Regions from separate parts of the Homo sapiens genome. Here all the other regions are linked to region 1. Evidence: promoter capture Hi-C in 16 types of primary human blood cells and fetal thymus (Javierre and others, 2016). All regions are on one chromosome and are shown on one strand. The core of a region is centred on a gene start or on the middle of the fragment in contact, and the rest is flanking DNA. Distances in the headings are between cores, read along the strand shown.

Region 1 (2,856 bases), core at 234-2,733:
CACACACACACACACACACACACACACACACACACACAGTGGCATAATTAGCACATGGTACAAAAGAGCCAAAGGAGGAGAGGGAAGTGGGGGCCAAGTAGAGTAGGAGCCTTGCTGGAAGAGGGGAATGCAAAAGGATCTTGCAGCATGGAGAGATTTTAGACATACGTTTGGAGGGAATTCAGTGCAACCCACCAGGAGAAGGGCCATGGTGTGTGACTGGCCACACTCCTAAGTCTCCTCCTCACATGTGGCAATTATCCCAATTTCCCGAAAGTCACTTTATATTAGCATTTGGCAGAGCATGTTTCTCAAGAGAGTTAACATACACTCCAGACTAAAACACAAACAAACAAACAACAAATGAAATTGAAAATGTGGTTAAACAGGTGCCTTTATTGCAGAACTTCTCAGAACCCAAAGTACATCTGTAAATCTCTCCCAGATGATTAGGTCATAGATCCTATTTTCCCAAAAGAATCTCAAAGAACTGGTATTTTGGGAAGCACCACTTTAAACCTCCCAGCTATTGCTAGTGGGTGGAAAAGGGCAGCCAACCCATGGTAAGCAGCACGGTGGAAAGTACCGAACCAAAACAGCTGTCAGGCCTGACACTGTGCCTTCAGATCCCAGGACACTTGCTAATGAGCAGCTGGGGCAGGGGACAGTGACACAGCCAGTGAATAGTATTAGGGTATGGCTGACTCCAAAAAAAAATTAAGAGTATTATTGTCTCTATGTGACCCTATGCTAAAAAACTTCACCTCACAACACCCTTATCAAGTAGACTATAAAATCACTTTCACTTCAGTGCTAAAAAGGCTGGAGTACTTTGCTTAAGGTCACACAGCTAGTGACAGAACCAGGCTTTCATCCAGTGAGGGGGATGATTCCAAGAGCACTCAAGAGTCACAGCTTAGAGCAGAAATCAACTCCAGGAAGCAGCTGGGACTGCTCTACCATCTCAAGAAGAAGAACTAGTAAGTGTCAAGGCTGAGGTGAAAGCTCAGAAGCAGATGGTTTTATTAAAAATGGGCAGAACCAAAAACTGGGCTCAGGGTAGAGAAAGATGACGCAGGGAACAGAAGCACTTGGAGGTCAAGCACAACACAGTTTAGAGACTCACAAGCTCTGTGAGTGGTCGAGAACATTCTCATGGGGCAGCTGCCAGCTATTGCTTTTCCTGCTGGCAGCGTCCGCCACAGCAGCTGGAACACACTGATGTTTCGTGTGTTCCAGCCACAACAGTGTACGGTTCTCGTGAAAACTTACCCTCAAAATAGTTGATGCTACAATTATTTGTTTTGCGGTTTTACTTACCACAGTAGGTGTATGAAATACTTGCATCGGATGAGTTGCAGACCCAATACTGCTTCTGAGCTTCAGTAAATATGGAAGAAAACAGGGTGGAAAAAAACAGAAATGGTAACATGATTCAATATCTCCAAAGCTTTACAAATGCAAAGAGGATCAGTAACTAATCATCAGACTCTTCCTTTTCAGTAAGCAGAAAAGATTTAACTTAGTCATCAGTCACATGATTTCTGAGTTCCTATCCAACTGTTTCCTCTTTTTTTGTGTGTGTGTGCTCAACATTTGAGCACTTCCTGTAAAGGAAGAGAGAAAAATGATTTAGAATGTACTCTTCAAACACTTACTGTAAATGAGAGTGATCAAAGACTTAAAAATAAAACAAGACACTTTGGCCAGGCACGGTGGCTCATGCCTGTAATCTCAGTATTTTGGGAGGCTGAGGCAGGTGGATCACTTGAGGTCAGGAGTTCAAGACCAGCCTGGCTGACATGATGAAACACATCTCTACTAAAAATACAAAAATTAGCCAGGTGTGGTAGTGCATGCCTGTAATCCCAGCTATTCAGGAGGCTGAGGCAGGAGCTTCACTTTATCTGGGAGGCAGAGGTTGCAGTGAGCCAAGATGGCACCACTGCTCTCCAGCCTGGGCAACAGAGCAAGACTCCATTTCAAAAAAATTTTTTAAATGAAAAATAAAATAAAATAAACAAGACAATTCCCAGTCAACTGTAACAAAACCAGTCCCTAGGTCCCCCTGAAAGTCTCAACAGACAGGCACTCCTTTTCCCTCTGCATTATTCTTCTCTCCTACAGCTCTGTATAACAGCAGTCCCCAACATTTTTGGCCTCAGGGATCAGTTTCATGGAAGACAATTTTTCCACGGACTGAGGGGATGGGGAGGGATGGTTTCAGGGTGAAACTGTTCCACCTCAGAACATCAGGCATTAGATTCTTATAGGGAGCACGCAACCTAGATCCCTCGCTTGTATACTTCATAACAAGGTTCCTGCTCCCATGGGAATCTAATGCTGCTGCTGGTCTGACAGGAGCTGGAGCTCAGGTGGTAATGCTCGCTCACCTGCTGTTAACCTCCAGCTGTGCAGCCCACTTCCTAACAAGCCACAACCAGATTCCTAACAGGCCATGGACTGGTACTGGTCCACGGCCCCCAGAGGATGGGGCCTCCTGCTTTATAAAACAAATTCTCAGCTGGGCACGGTGGCTCATGCCTGTCATCCCAGCATTTTGGGATACCAAGGTGGGTGGATCACTTGAGGTCAGGAGTTCAAGACCAGCCTGGCCAACATGGTGAAATTCCGTCTCTACTAAAAATATAAAAATTAGCCAGGCATGGTGGCACACACCTGTAATCCCAGCTACTCGGGAGGCTGAGGCAGGAGAATCGCTTGAACCCAGGAGGCAGAGGTTGCAGTGAGCCAAGATTGGGCCACTACACTCCAGCCTGGGCAACAGAGTGAGACTCGGTCTCAAAAACAAACAAACAGGCCAGGCGCAGTGGCTCACCTCTGTAAATCCCAGCA
Region 2 (2,856 bases), core at 114-2,613, 200 kb after region 1:
AAAATGGATTATTGGGTTGATTAGTAGCCAAAAACTAAATGCATGTTCAGGTCAAAATGAATTTGTTTGTTTTAGTTGGTGCCATTTTCCTTTTATTATTCAGAACTACAGAGTGTGCATTTTATTAATAGGAATGAAAGCTCATGCTTGAGGATTTGAATAGGGTGGATGTATATATTTTATAAACTCAAGTTGCAAAATATGTAAAGTCACTACTTTTTAAATAGAATATAAATGTTAAAACAGACAAATCTATGTTATATATTTTTTAATACATGTATCAGACTTGTTAGTTGAATGCAGATTACTTTGCTTTATGGAATTTCATAACTTTTAATAATAAAGCAGTTGTTATTGGATTTTTTCTGTAGACTTGAATACTAAATGGGATAGATACCAGACCTCTTTTTGGTTTATGACGTAAAAGTATTTGTACAGTAGTTTCTCTTCACAAAAGACTGAATTTTAAAGGATTATAGAAACAGGAACATGTCCATTTCCAAAATGAGTGCAACAGAATGAAGATAGTCACTTAAACCATCTATTTAACACATCACCTTTATGTAATATGTAGCTAGTTTTAGTGTTTTAATAAGTCCCAACTAAAGACTGAGTGTTTTCAGTGAAGATGGAAATGGAGACCCAGGCACTTGCTTAGAGTTATCGTGAGTCCGATGTTCCTGAACTTCAAGTTGTACAATTAAGGGCATACTCTAAGAACTTCTGGATGCTTTCTGGAGTATACAAACAGATCAACTAATGACTTAAATGAGTGACTCTTGAAGCTGCAAGAAGAGGAAAGAAATAACCACAAGAAGGGGCTATCTCAGCATCTGTTATTCCTGACAGGAGGAATTAAATATGCTCTGCTGGTAATTCTAAGCTTTTCTGCAGGGGATCTGCTTGCCCCAGGAGCACCTTAGTCCTCATTGAGGCAGCCATTCTGCCATAAAAACGATCATGTCTCAAGCTGTTCCTGCCGTCCTACACAACTATGTTAGTAGATGGTTAGATAAATATATGAACCATCTTTTGTACTTTGATGATGCCCTTTTCCTTTATTATAATCCTTAATTTCTACTTTCCATAGTAGGATTTGACTTTTCTCCATTAGTTTAAGCTACCCTGGATAAGTGACTCTGTTTATGTCCTCCCTATATTTCTTACTCATTTTCACACTAACATAACACGTAACAAAATTAAACATAAGCTAAATTGAAGAAGCAAGTGAGACAGCTAAGAGTTTTGTGTACTTGGACAACAAAGCTCAAAGCCACTGTGGTTATCTGTCCTGTTGGGAGCCCCTTTCAACCATTTTTTTAGTTGCCTGTAAGATTTATTTTTAATGTTTGCCTGCATAATGCAAAATACATAAGTGGGAATCCCTACGCCCTTTACAGTTAAGTGGATTATGGAAATAATAAGGAAAGTTTATCAACTAAGGTAGGAAATATCTTCTCATGTCTGTATCTGGCCTTCAGGGACTTAATGTGGGTGAATATATGTCATTAGACAAGATCCTAATATAGATGGCTGTATCCTGCAGATAGCCAATTCAACATTAAAATTTTATGTTTCCATACCTCAATGAAAACATATTTCTTTTATCCTGTTATAATTTAATGACATTCCCATCCAACTTAATCAAGCAATGATACTCAGTAGTCCTCTCCTTGCATTTTTCAAGTCCTGTTGAGTGTAACTTTAAAATGTCTCTGAGATTTCTACCTTCTCTCCAGTCTCCTTACCATTAGGGCCTTTCACTACCTGGCCTTGGTGTCCCTAGGCTGCTCTTCAGCTGTCCACAAACCTTGTTTCATAAGCAGTAGCAATGCAAGCTTCCACTGCCGTCTGCTAATGTTCTTCCCTCCTAGAATGTTCATGATCTGCGTTTCTACCTGAAAGGTCTAGTTCAAAGGTAGCTGAAAGGTTATCATCCTTGTCCTTTCTTCTCTCCCTACCAGTCATCTATCCTGAACTTTTTAACAGTAGGGACAGTGTTGCAATTGTGTTTGTGTCCCCAGCACGTAGCACACAGTACCTAGTATACAGTACCTGTAGCACATAGGCATTTAATAAGTGTGTATTGAATTAACTTGGTTATGCTTGTATTTTTATCCTAGCTTTCTCAAAGAAACTTAGGTGCTAGCTATTTTGAAACATATATCCAGAACCACCACCTGAGTAAAATGTATAACAGGACCCTGCTCTTTCTATCCCAGAGAGTTTGAGAAAACTACTTTTAAATAAATCATTAATCATTCTTCATTGGTTTTGGCTTTTTTTATAGGTGTTTCTCATATCTTTATCTCTGAGGCAAATTGCTTGTCACAAATTAATTGTTTTAAACTAAATACATCTCAGGAACCATAAAATCATAAAGGTAAACCTGACATAGAGTTTAAAAACCAGCATTAAGCAGATAATTATTGTGTGCCTTTCATATGCCAAGAAGGATGGCAGATGAGGTATATATCTTCAAAGGGCATATGTAATAAGGGAGATAATAAATAGAAAAGCATATCATATAAAATGTGACAAGCCTTAAGAGGTGCAGATAGTTTCTGATTATCAAAGAAACATGTCTGTGAAAAGTACTGTCATGCATAAAGATGGGCCAGGCACAGTGGCTTACGCCTGTAATCCCAGTACTTTGGGCAGGTGGATCACGTCAGGAGCTTGAGACCAGCCTGGCCAACATGGTGAAACCCCGTATCTACTAAAAATAAAATAACGGCGTGGTGGTGGGCGCCTGTAATCCCGGCTACTTGGGAGGCTGAGGCAGGAGAATAGCTTGAATCCGGGAGGCAGAGGTTGCAGTGAACTAAGATCATGCCATTGCACTCCAGCCTGGGA
Region 3 (2,856 bases), core at 93-2,592, 190 kb after region 1:
CAACCACACCCAGCTAATTTTGTATTTTTAGTAGAGATGGGGTTTCTGTGTGTTGATGAGTCTGGTCTTGAACTCCTGACCTCAGGTGATCTGCCCACCTGGGCATCCCAAAGTTCTGGGATTACAGGCGTGAGCCACCACGCCCAGCACTACACCAGATTTTTAATGGGGCAAACAAAATCATAGCCATCATAAAAGTAAAATGTAAAATTACTTTGACATTCGGAGACTCTACCATTGTATTACAGAAAAGAAGTTGTTAATAATCTTTAGATCAAATTAGAACTATTTACTGGGAGCCCAGGCATGGTGGCCTACGCCTGTAATCCCAGCACTTTGGGAGGCAGAGGTGGGCAGATCACTTGAGGTCAGGAGTTCAAGACTAGCTTGGTCAACATGGTGAAACTTCGTCTCTACTAAAAGTACAAAAATTAGATGGGCGTGGTGGCTTGCAGCTAATTCCACTGGAGGCTGATGCATGAGAATCACTTGAACCCTGGTGGCGAAGGTTGAAGTGAGCTGAGATCACGCTACTCTACTCCAGCCTGGGTGACAGTGATGGAATGAGACTCTATCTCCAAAGGAAAAAAAAAAAAGAACTAGTTACTGGGAAGTCTGTTGTTTGAAATAGAAGTTTTGATGCCTTGTTTGTTCATTTAGTTCTGGTAGTATTCATGGCCGGGAGGAGGCGGGAGTCACAGTAAGGGGTACCTCATTAAATTAGAAAGCTCTCTATTCTAATCATTATCCCTTAAAAAAAAAAAAGTGAGATTCTGCTGATTGTAGTTGTATTAATAAAGTACTCTCTAATTTTAAATTTCTATTGTATTTGTTGGGATGGTAATGATAATTCAGAGCTGCTAGTATTTCTAAACTAACCTTAATGCTTCCCTGAAGAGTTATTTGAAATTAAAAACAAAAAGTCTGTATTCTTCAATGTAGTTTTTGAAGCAAGTAAACAAAAACCATCCCCTGTGATTTTTGTATACATAAGAGTATTGCCTTTGGGGTTTTTTATGTGTGTGGGTTTTTTTTTTTTTTTAATGTTAACCTGATAATAAATTAGAACTAGCAAAAACTAATTGAACTATGACCTTCTCCCCGTATCTTCTATCCAGTGTGAAGCCTTCTGTATCCTCACCTAAATTGAGTGAATTAAAAACTTAAAAGTTCCCCAGGTGTTGAACGAAAAGATGACCCGAGTCAGTGCAATAGAACTATGCCAGTAGTTAAAAATTAGAAAACACAAAGAAGTGGCCGGGCGTGGTGGCTCATGCCTGTAATCCCAGCACTTTGGGAGGCTGAGGTGGGTGGATCACGAGACCAGGAGATTGAGACCATCCTGGCTAACACGGTGAAACCCTGTCTCTACTAAAAATACAAAAAATTAGCCGGGCGTGGTGGCAGGCGCCTGTAGTCCCAGTTACTCGGGAGGCCGAGTCAGGAGAATGGCATGAACCCAGGAGGCGGAGCTCATAGTGAGCGGAGATCGCGCCACTGCACTCCAGCCTGGGCGACAGAGCAAGCCTCCGTCTCAAAAAAAAAAAAAAAGAAAAGAAAAAAGAAAACAAAGAAATATGCTGTTCCTGAGAGACAGAAATGTGAAAATTTGGGGTAATATCAATAAGAAATACATATGACTTAGAAGAAGAAGAAAATGGCAAAACTTTAAGAGCTGTGAAATAAAAATACGTGTATTTTACAAACTGTAGGTTCGATGGAGTTCATTACAAATCCAGTGAATGATTGTGGGGGTGGGAAGGGAGATAGGTGTTTGAAAAGTTTGGGAAAAAAATAGTAGATGAGAAGAACAAAGTTTGAATTTTGAGCCATAAAGGTAATGGAGAATTAATCTACCAGACAGGACACTAAAAATACTAATAGAAGAACAGATCATTGAAATACAGTTCCTCTTATTTAGGCCCAGTTGAATATAACATTTGAATATATGATAAGGCATTACAAATCAGTGATAAGGGGAAGGATTATTTAGTAAGTAATCATCTTGGAAAATCTGTAATCCTTTGGAGAAGGAATATTTTCACTGCATAAAATATTTCTTGTGGGTTCAGTATTTGTATTTATTTATTTTTTATTTATTTTTTGAGATGAAGTCTCGCTCTGTTGCCCAGGCTGGAGTGCAGTGGCGTGATCTAGGCTCACTGCATCCTCTGCCTCCTGGGTTCAAGCAATTCTCCTGCCCTCAGCCTCCCTAGTAGCTGGGATTACAGGCGCGCCACCATGCCCAGCTGATTTTTGTATTTTTATTTTTATTTTTGTTTATTTATTTATTTATTTTGAGACGGAGTCTTGCTGTCGCCCAGGCTGGAGTGCAGTTTCGCAACTTCGGCTCACTGCAAGCTCCACCTCCCAGGGTTCACACCATTCTCCTGCCTCAGCCTCCCGCGTAGCTGGGACTACAGGCGCCCGCCACCTCGCTCGGCTAATTTTTTGTATTTTTAGTAGAGACGGGGTTTCACTGTGTTAGCCAGGATGGTCTTGATCTCCTGACCTCGTGATCCACCCACCTCGGCCTCCCAAAGTGCTGGGATTACAGGCATGAGCCTCCACACCCGGCCAATTTTTGTATTTTTAGTAGAGACGGGTTTTGCCATGTTGGCCAGGCTGGTCTCGAACTCCTGACCTCAGGGTGATCGCCTGCCTCAGCCTCCCAAAGTGCTGGGATTACAGGCGTGAGCCACTGCGCCTGGCCTATTTTTAAAATATAACCAAAAAAATGTTTTTTTTCAATGTTGGGTATCAGCTCTCTGGAGAAAGGAAGAATTTCTGAATTTAAAAGGAATCACAAAGAAATTAAACATTCAATTATATGAAAATGTACAGCTTCTTTAACTT
Region 4 (2,856 bases), core at 173-2,672, 170 kb after region 1:
CCAGTAAATAATGATTTGGCCATCTGATGGCACACCCAGCTAATTTTTATATTTTTTGTAGAGATGGGGTCTTGCCATGTTGCCCAGACTAGTCTCGAGCTCCTGGGCTCAAGCGATCAGCCCACCTCCTTGGCCTCCCAAAGTGCTGGGATTACATGTGTGAGCCACCATGCCTGGCCTAGTCCAGGTTTTTATCTTTTATTTGAACCATTACAGTAGCCTTTAGTTCTTTGAATTCCTACATCCTTTCACGGTGCCAATAGATTTGTTTGAAGGCACAGTTATCTCACTGGTTACATACCACACACATGGACATGCACACACATCCCCCCCCCCCCACACACACACTCCCACACCCCACTCCACCCCCCCACCACACACACACTCTGTCTCACTCCACCATCCCCAGAATTCCTCACCCCCTGACAGTAAAACCTCTTAATGTTTATTTCCTATGGAATCAAGTTTTTAGCCTGGCATTCAAGTCCCTGTATAGTCACATCCAAACTTAACTTTTTCTGCACCTGCATGCATTCTGTATGGTAATATTTCTATATAGTACTTCATAATTTAACTTCCATTCTGATTTTGTTTTCTAACATCTTTTAATGAAGTGGTTAGGGGAGGTAGATTCATCCTCATTTTATATGTGAAGAAATTGAAACTTGTAGAAGTGAAGTGCCTTGTTCACGTTTTAATACCTAGTTTATAGGACAGTCAAGACCCAAACCCAAGTCTTTCCTTTCCTCCTTTGCCATACTGCCAATTAGATGCGAGTACCGGTGTGGAAAAAATGCCTATTTATCTATGTAGTAATTTTCTCTCTGAAAGTGAAAGATTATATGTGGAATGAATGGTACCTTTGAAAGCTCTAGGTCAGTTATTCTCACTCTTTTTGAAATATAAGGATTCCTTTTTTAATTTACTTTTTGGTGGGGTGGGGGTGCGGAGACAGAGTCTCCCTTTGTCATCTACCTATGCTGTGGTGTAATCATAGCTCACTGCAGCCTCCAACTCCTGGGCTCAAGTGATCCTTCCACCTCAGCCTCCAGAGTAGCAGGGACTACAGCCATCTGCCGCCATGCCTGGCTTGGTTTTTTTATTTTGTTTTTTTGTTTGTTTGTTTGTTTGTTTGTTTGTTTTTTATTTTTTTGAGACAGAGTCTCGCTCTGTTGCCCAGGCTGGAGTGCAGTGGTGTGATCTCTGCTCACTGCAACCTCTGCCTCCTGGGCTTAAACCATTCTCCCACCTCAGCCTCTCTGAGTAGCTGCAACTACAGGTATGCACCACCATGCCTGGCTTATTTTTTTTTGTATTTTTGGTAGAAACAAGGTTTCACCATGTTGGTCCAGCTGGTCTTGAACTCCTGTCCTAAAGTGATCTGCTCGCCTCGGCCTGTCAAAGTACTGGGATCATAGGCACGCCCAGTGAGGATTCCTTTTTAATATCAGTTAATTCTGTAGTCCCTCACATGGCATAGAGGTTGTATATTCTAATATCCATTGATTGGGAAAATGGCAGAACTACTCTGAGGCCAGTAATACGTTAAAATTTTTTAAAATGTATTTATACATAATCTATATAGTTTTAACATAATTATAATGGGTCAAACATCAATGCTTGATGTGCTTATAGACTTCAAGATTTTTCCAATAACTGAAACTTTGCAGAGATCCACTGCCCTGGGAAAGTGGCTAGAACCAGTCCTCTAGGGCAGTAAAATTCCCCCAAAATTTTATTTGATGAAACTCTGTAGCATTAGCACTTGTTACCTAAATTAGTCTTTCATCTTTCTGGCTGGGCATGGTACTCATGCCTGTAATCCAAGCACTTTGAGAGGCCAAGGCAGCCCAGGAGTTTTGGGACCAGCCTGGGCAACGTAGGGCAACCCCATCTCTAATAAAAAAAAGAAAGAAAAGTCTTTCATCTTTCTATGCAATGAACAGTACTGAGTTTATCACTAGTTACAAGAGTAGAATTTGGAAAATATTTCTAGAATAGATGAATCTCATTGTGAAATTACTGCTTTTGTACCTGTAAATGAGATCAGTAAGACTGTCACACACCATTATGGTTTGTTGTGTTTTTCTTCCTGCCAGTTATATTTTATGTCTCATGTTGTGTCCTGCCTTATAATGAAAAAGTTACCTCTCTAAAATATGTTTGGCTCAGTCATTTGCCTTAAAAGAAAGAATAACAACAAACAATTTGTCTGTTAATATGGAAACAGAGATGAGGCATCTTTTCATCACTGCTTGCCGCTAATGTACACTTACTGTCAGCCATACAGAAAATAGCTTTCTATGTACATATTCTGCTTTTTTATGCTAGGATACAGGTAAATGGTTGGTTAATTCAACATGTATTGGGCATGAATTATGTATCAAATACTGTTTCTTGAGAGAGGGGAGAGAGTACAGAGTTTTAAAAGGCATTGGGCCTGCCTTTAAACAGTTTATAATCTGTTTAGTATTTGGATAGGTAAATATTCATTCCGTATTTCTTGAGGATGTGTCATGGGACAGACACTGTGCTGGGTGCTGGTGATTCAATGATGACCAAAACTGCAACAGCAACAAAAACCCTGCTTATATGGAGTTTGCATTCTTGTGGGGAGAGACAGTAAGCAACGAGTAGAATACATATAGTATGGAAGATGGTGAGGGAAAAGTACAGAAGGGGAGATGAGGGTGTTGAAATATTGGATAGAGTCACTGGGAAAGATTTCACTGAGAAGGTGACATTGGAGGAGAGATCTGAAAGATGTGCAGGAGTAAGCCATTTGAAAGGGTTGAGAGAAAGAACAGATGAAGACAAAATGCAAAGGCTCTAAATCTGGAATATGTAGGACGGGTC
Region 5 (2,856 bases), core at 151-2,650, 150 kb after region 1:
CTGAATTTGTAAACCTTGGGTATCTTAGAAGAGCTCAGATTCTTGGGTGCTTTGCAGACTTGAACCAACACAAGGTAAGGGCTAGAGTTTTCAGGTTTTCTCCAGATTTGAGATGCTTCAAAACATTTACATTCTGGACCTGACTGGCTTTTTTGGATGGAAGAATAAAAAAAAGGAAACAGCCTCTTCTGGAATGAGATTCTTTTGCAAATAACTTTAGGCCTTTTCGCCCTGGGGAGGATAGATGTCTGTGCACTCCTATGCAAATTCTGGGAATAAAGTGCATATTTAAAGATTTGCTGAAGTCATGTGTTTTGGGGTAGGTGTTAAATACCAAGATAAGAATCAGTTATTAAATTTACTCAGGGCTGGGGGTGCAATGGCTTGCGCCTGTAATCCTAGCACTTTGGGAGGCTGGGGTGGGAGGATCACTTGAGACCAGGCCAGGCAGCACAGCTAAAACCTGTCTCTACAAAGTATATATTTTTAAATCAATTTTAAAAAGTTAACTCAGAAACATACTCGAAGTTTTATTTTTCAGTAGACTTAGGAAAATTAAACTCTTTAATACCACTTCATAATTTTTTTTTTTTTAAGACAAGAGTCTCACTCTGTTGCCCAAGCTTGAGTGCAGTGGCACGATCTTGGCTCACTGGAACCTCCGCCTTCTGGGTTCAAACATTTCTCCTGCCTCAGCCTCCTGAGTAGCTGGGATTACAGACACTTACCACCACGCCTGGCTAATTTTTATGTTTTTAGTAGAGACAGGGTTTCACTATGTTGGCCAGGCTGATCTCGAACTCCTGACCTCAGGTGATGCACCTGCCTCGGCCTCCCAGAGTGCTGGGATTACAGGCATGAGCCACCGCACCCGACCCACTTCATTTTTTTAAATGCACTTTTTCCATATTTTAACATCTTTCAAATCAGGATATGTGTTATTGAAGGTGTGTCATTGTTTAATTGGCAGCAGTTTTTCTTTCCTAGTGACACATAAAATGATGATGCATCTTACAATTGATGGCGTGTCTTAGATTCAGAGGAGAGTAGTATATTTGTGGTTAATTTTCCCATACCTCACCAATTTTGGGACAGACAAGGGTAATATTTGGCTATGAACCACTGGAACCTAATTTCTCATGTCCTCTTCTCCCTTTTCCCCCATGGTTTCTGGGTGTTTCTGCTGCTTTACTTACAGTACTTAACATTCTGCAGTTATTTTCCATTTTGTAGTTATCTCAATCTGTAGCTGCCATTTTCCCTACCACTTGGGAAAGCAGGCCAGTATGGCCATGATGGTTTTATAAGCCAGTGGTGTCATACCTTTAGCAAGTGTTCTGTCCTAAATACTAGTGTTTCTTAACAAATTTGTTAATACTTTGTCTTCATTTATAGGTGAATGCAGCCTCATGTGATTATAGCTTTCTGGATTGTGTGACCTCTAAAAGGTCATACTAGTTCTTCATATTTACAAACAAAATGTGAATTTTCATTTATCTTTACATGCAGCTCTTTAAATCATTTTCTTTCAGCTCTTCCATGTCTACATTTGGGAAACTTAGAACTAGTTTTTTAGAATCACGACTTCAGGATTTTTCCTGCCCTGTCTAATGAACTGTTGTTCTGGGAAGAATGCAACTAAGGGTGAATTCTGTTTTTGTGAATCTGCAGAACAGATACTACACATTGCTTGACCTTTCACTGTTTGTATCTTTTTAAAAAATGTTTTATTTGTGAATGTAGTATGTACTCATTTAACCCCCCAAATGCTGGCCCTTCTCTCTCACTATTTCAGGGGATGTGAATATGCAAGGCAGTTTATTGCCTAGTAGCTAAGAAGGCTGGGGGCTGGCATGAATTGTCTTTTTTTAATGTAATAATTCCACCCCCTCAGTAAAAAAGCATGGTCCAGTGAATGTCTTAGATTGTGACTTAGTGATATTGATGAGGAAGTAGATGACAGTCCCTTCTGGGATGGAGGGGAGGATGGAGCAGTGGTCCTGTATTATCTATCAGTGCGTAACAAACCCTTAAACTTAGCGATTTAAAACAACAAATGTTATTTCACAGTTCCGAGGGTCAGGAATCAGAGGCATAGTTGTTTGATTCTGGCTTAGGGTCCCTCTTGAGTTTGCAGGTAAGGTACTGGCTAAGATAGTAGTCATCTGAAAGCTTGATTTGAATTGAAGGATTTGCCTACAAATCATCACATGGTTATTGGTAGGAGGTTTCAGTTCCTCACTATGAAGGCCTCTGAATTAGGCTGTTCTCAACATGATAGCTTGATTCCTCCAGAGCAAGTGATTTGAGAGAGAGAATTACCAAGACAGAAACCATAGTGTTTTGTTTTGTTTTGTTGTTTTTTGAGGCAAAGTCTCGCTCTCTCGCCCAGGCTGGAGTGCAGCAGCTTGATCTCACTCACTGCAACCTCTGCCTCCCGGGTACAAGCAATTCTCCTGTCTCAGCCTCCCGAGTAGCCGAGATTACAGACGCATGCCACCACGCCCAGCTGATTTTTTGTATTTTTAGTAGAGACAGGTTTTCACCATATTAGTCAGGCTGGTCCCGAATTCCTGACCTCAGGTGATTCACCCACCTCGGCCTCCCAAAGTACTGGGATTACAGGCATGAGCCATCGCACCCGGCCACAGAAACCATAGTTTTTAAAATAATCTAATCTTGGGAGTGACACACCATTTCTGCTGTATTCCATTGGTCACACAGATCAGCTCTGAGGGAGGGAACTACACAAGGGTGTGAATACTAGGACCTTTAGAGTTTGTTGGGAATTATCTTGAAAGTTGGCTATCATAGGTCCCTTCCTTTGTGGAGATGAAAGAAGTCTAAGGGTAAGGA

The links. Contacts are between HindIII fragments. The CHiCAGO score rates a contact against its expected background, and 5 or more counts as called.
Region 2: a contact is called between a fragment that was not itself captured here and the fragment with the promoter of LY96 in region 1, in 2 of 17 cell types (activated CD4 T cells and non-activated CD4 T cells). The highest score is 10.3, in activated CD4 T cells.
Region 3: a fragment that was not itself captured here is called in contact with the fragment with the promoter of LY96 in region 1 in 3 of 17 cell types (activated CD4 T cells, neutrophils and M2 macrophages); the score reaches 12.7 in activated CD4 T cells.
Region 4: a contact is called between a fragment that was not itself captured here and the fragment with the promoter of LY96 in region 1, in 1 of 17 cell types (activated CD4 T cells). The highest score is 6.0, in activated CD4 T cells.
Region 5: a contact is called between a fragment that was not itself captured here and the fragment with the promoter of LY96 in region 1, in 2 of 17 cell types (total B cells and activated CD4 T cells). The highest score is 6.6, in total B cells.

The regions. Positions count from the first base shown.
Region 1 is chr8:73,990,019-73,992,874 of GRCh38, reverse strand. LY96 (lymphocyte antigen 96) reads right to left here and starts at 1,483. Exons shown (of 5, transcript NM_015364.5): 1 at 1,321-1,483. The coding sequence starts at 1,432. RefSeq lists enhancers at 702-771, 1,142-1,241. The HindIII fragment of the contact is 3,298 bases long and covers 1,453-2,856 here.
Region 2 is chr8:73,785,631-73,788,486 of GRCh38, reverse strand. It overlaps UBE2W (ubiquitin conjugating enzyme E2 W), which reads left to right. Exons shown (of 6, transcript NM_018299.6): 6 at 1-2,268. Among named protein-coding and RNA genes, the nearest start is that of STAU2, 40 kb to the right of the region's middle. The HindIII fragment of the contact is 955 bases long and covers 886-1,840 here.
Region 3 is chr8:73,802,465-73,805,320 of GRCh38, reverse strand. The region is part of intron 5 of UBE2W (ubiquitin conjugating enzyme E2 W); the gene reads left to right. Among named protein-coding and RNA genes, the nearest start is that of STAU2, 57 kb to the right of the region's middle. The HindIII fragment of the contact is 3,630 bases long and covers 1-2,856 here.
Region 4 is chr8:73,819,039-73,821,894 of GRCh38, reverse strand. The region is part of intron 3 of UBE2W (ubiquitin conjugating enzyme E2 W); the gene reads left to right. Among named protein-coding and RNA genes, the nearest start is that of UBE2W, 58 kb to the left of the region's middle. The HindIII fragment of the contact is 5,947 bases long and covers 1-2,856 here.
Region 5 is chr8:73,835,252-73,838,107 of GRCh38, reverse strand. The region is part of intron 1 of UBE2W (ubiquitin conjugating enzyme E2 W); the gene reads left to right. Among named protein-coding and RNA genes, the nearest start is that of UBE2W, 42 kb to the left of the region's middle. The HindIII fragment of the contact is 1,549 bases long and covers 626-2,174 here.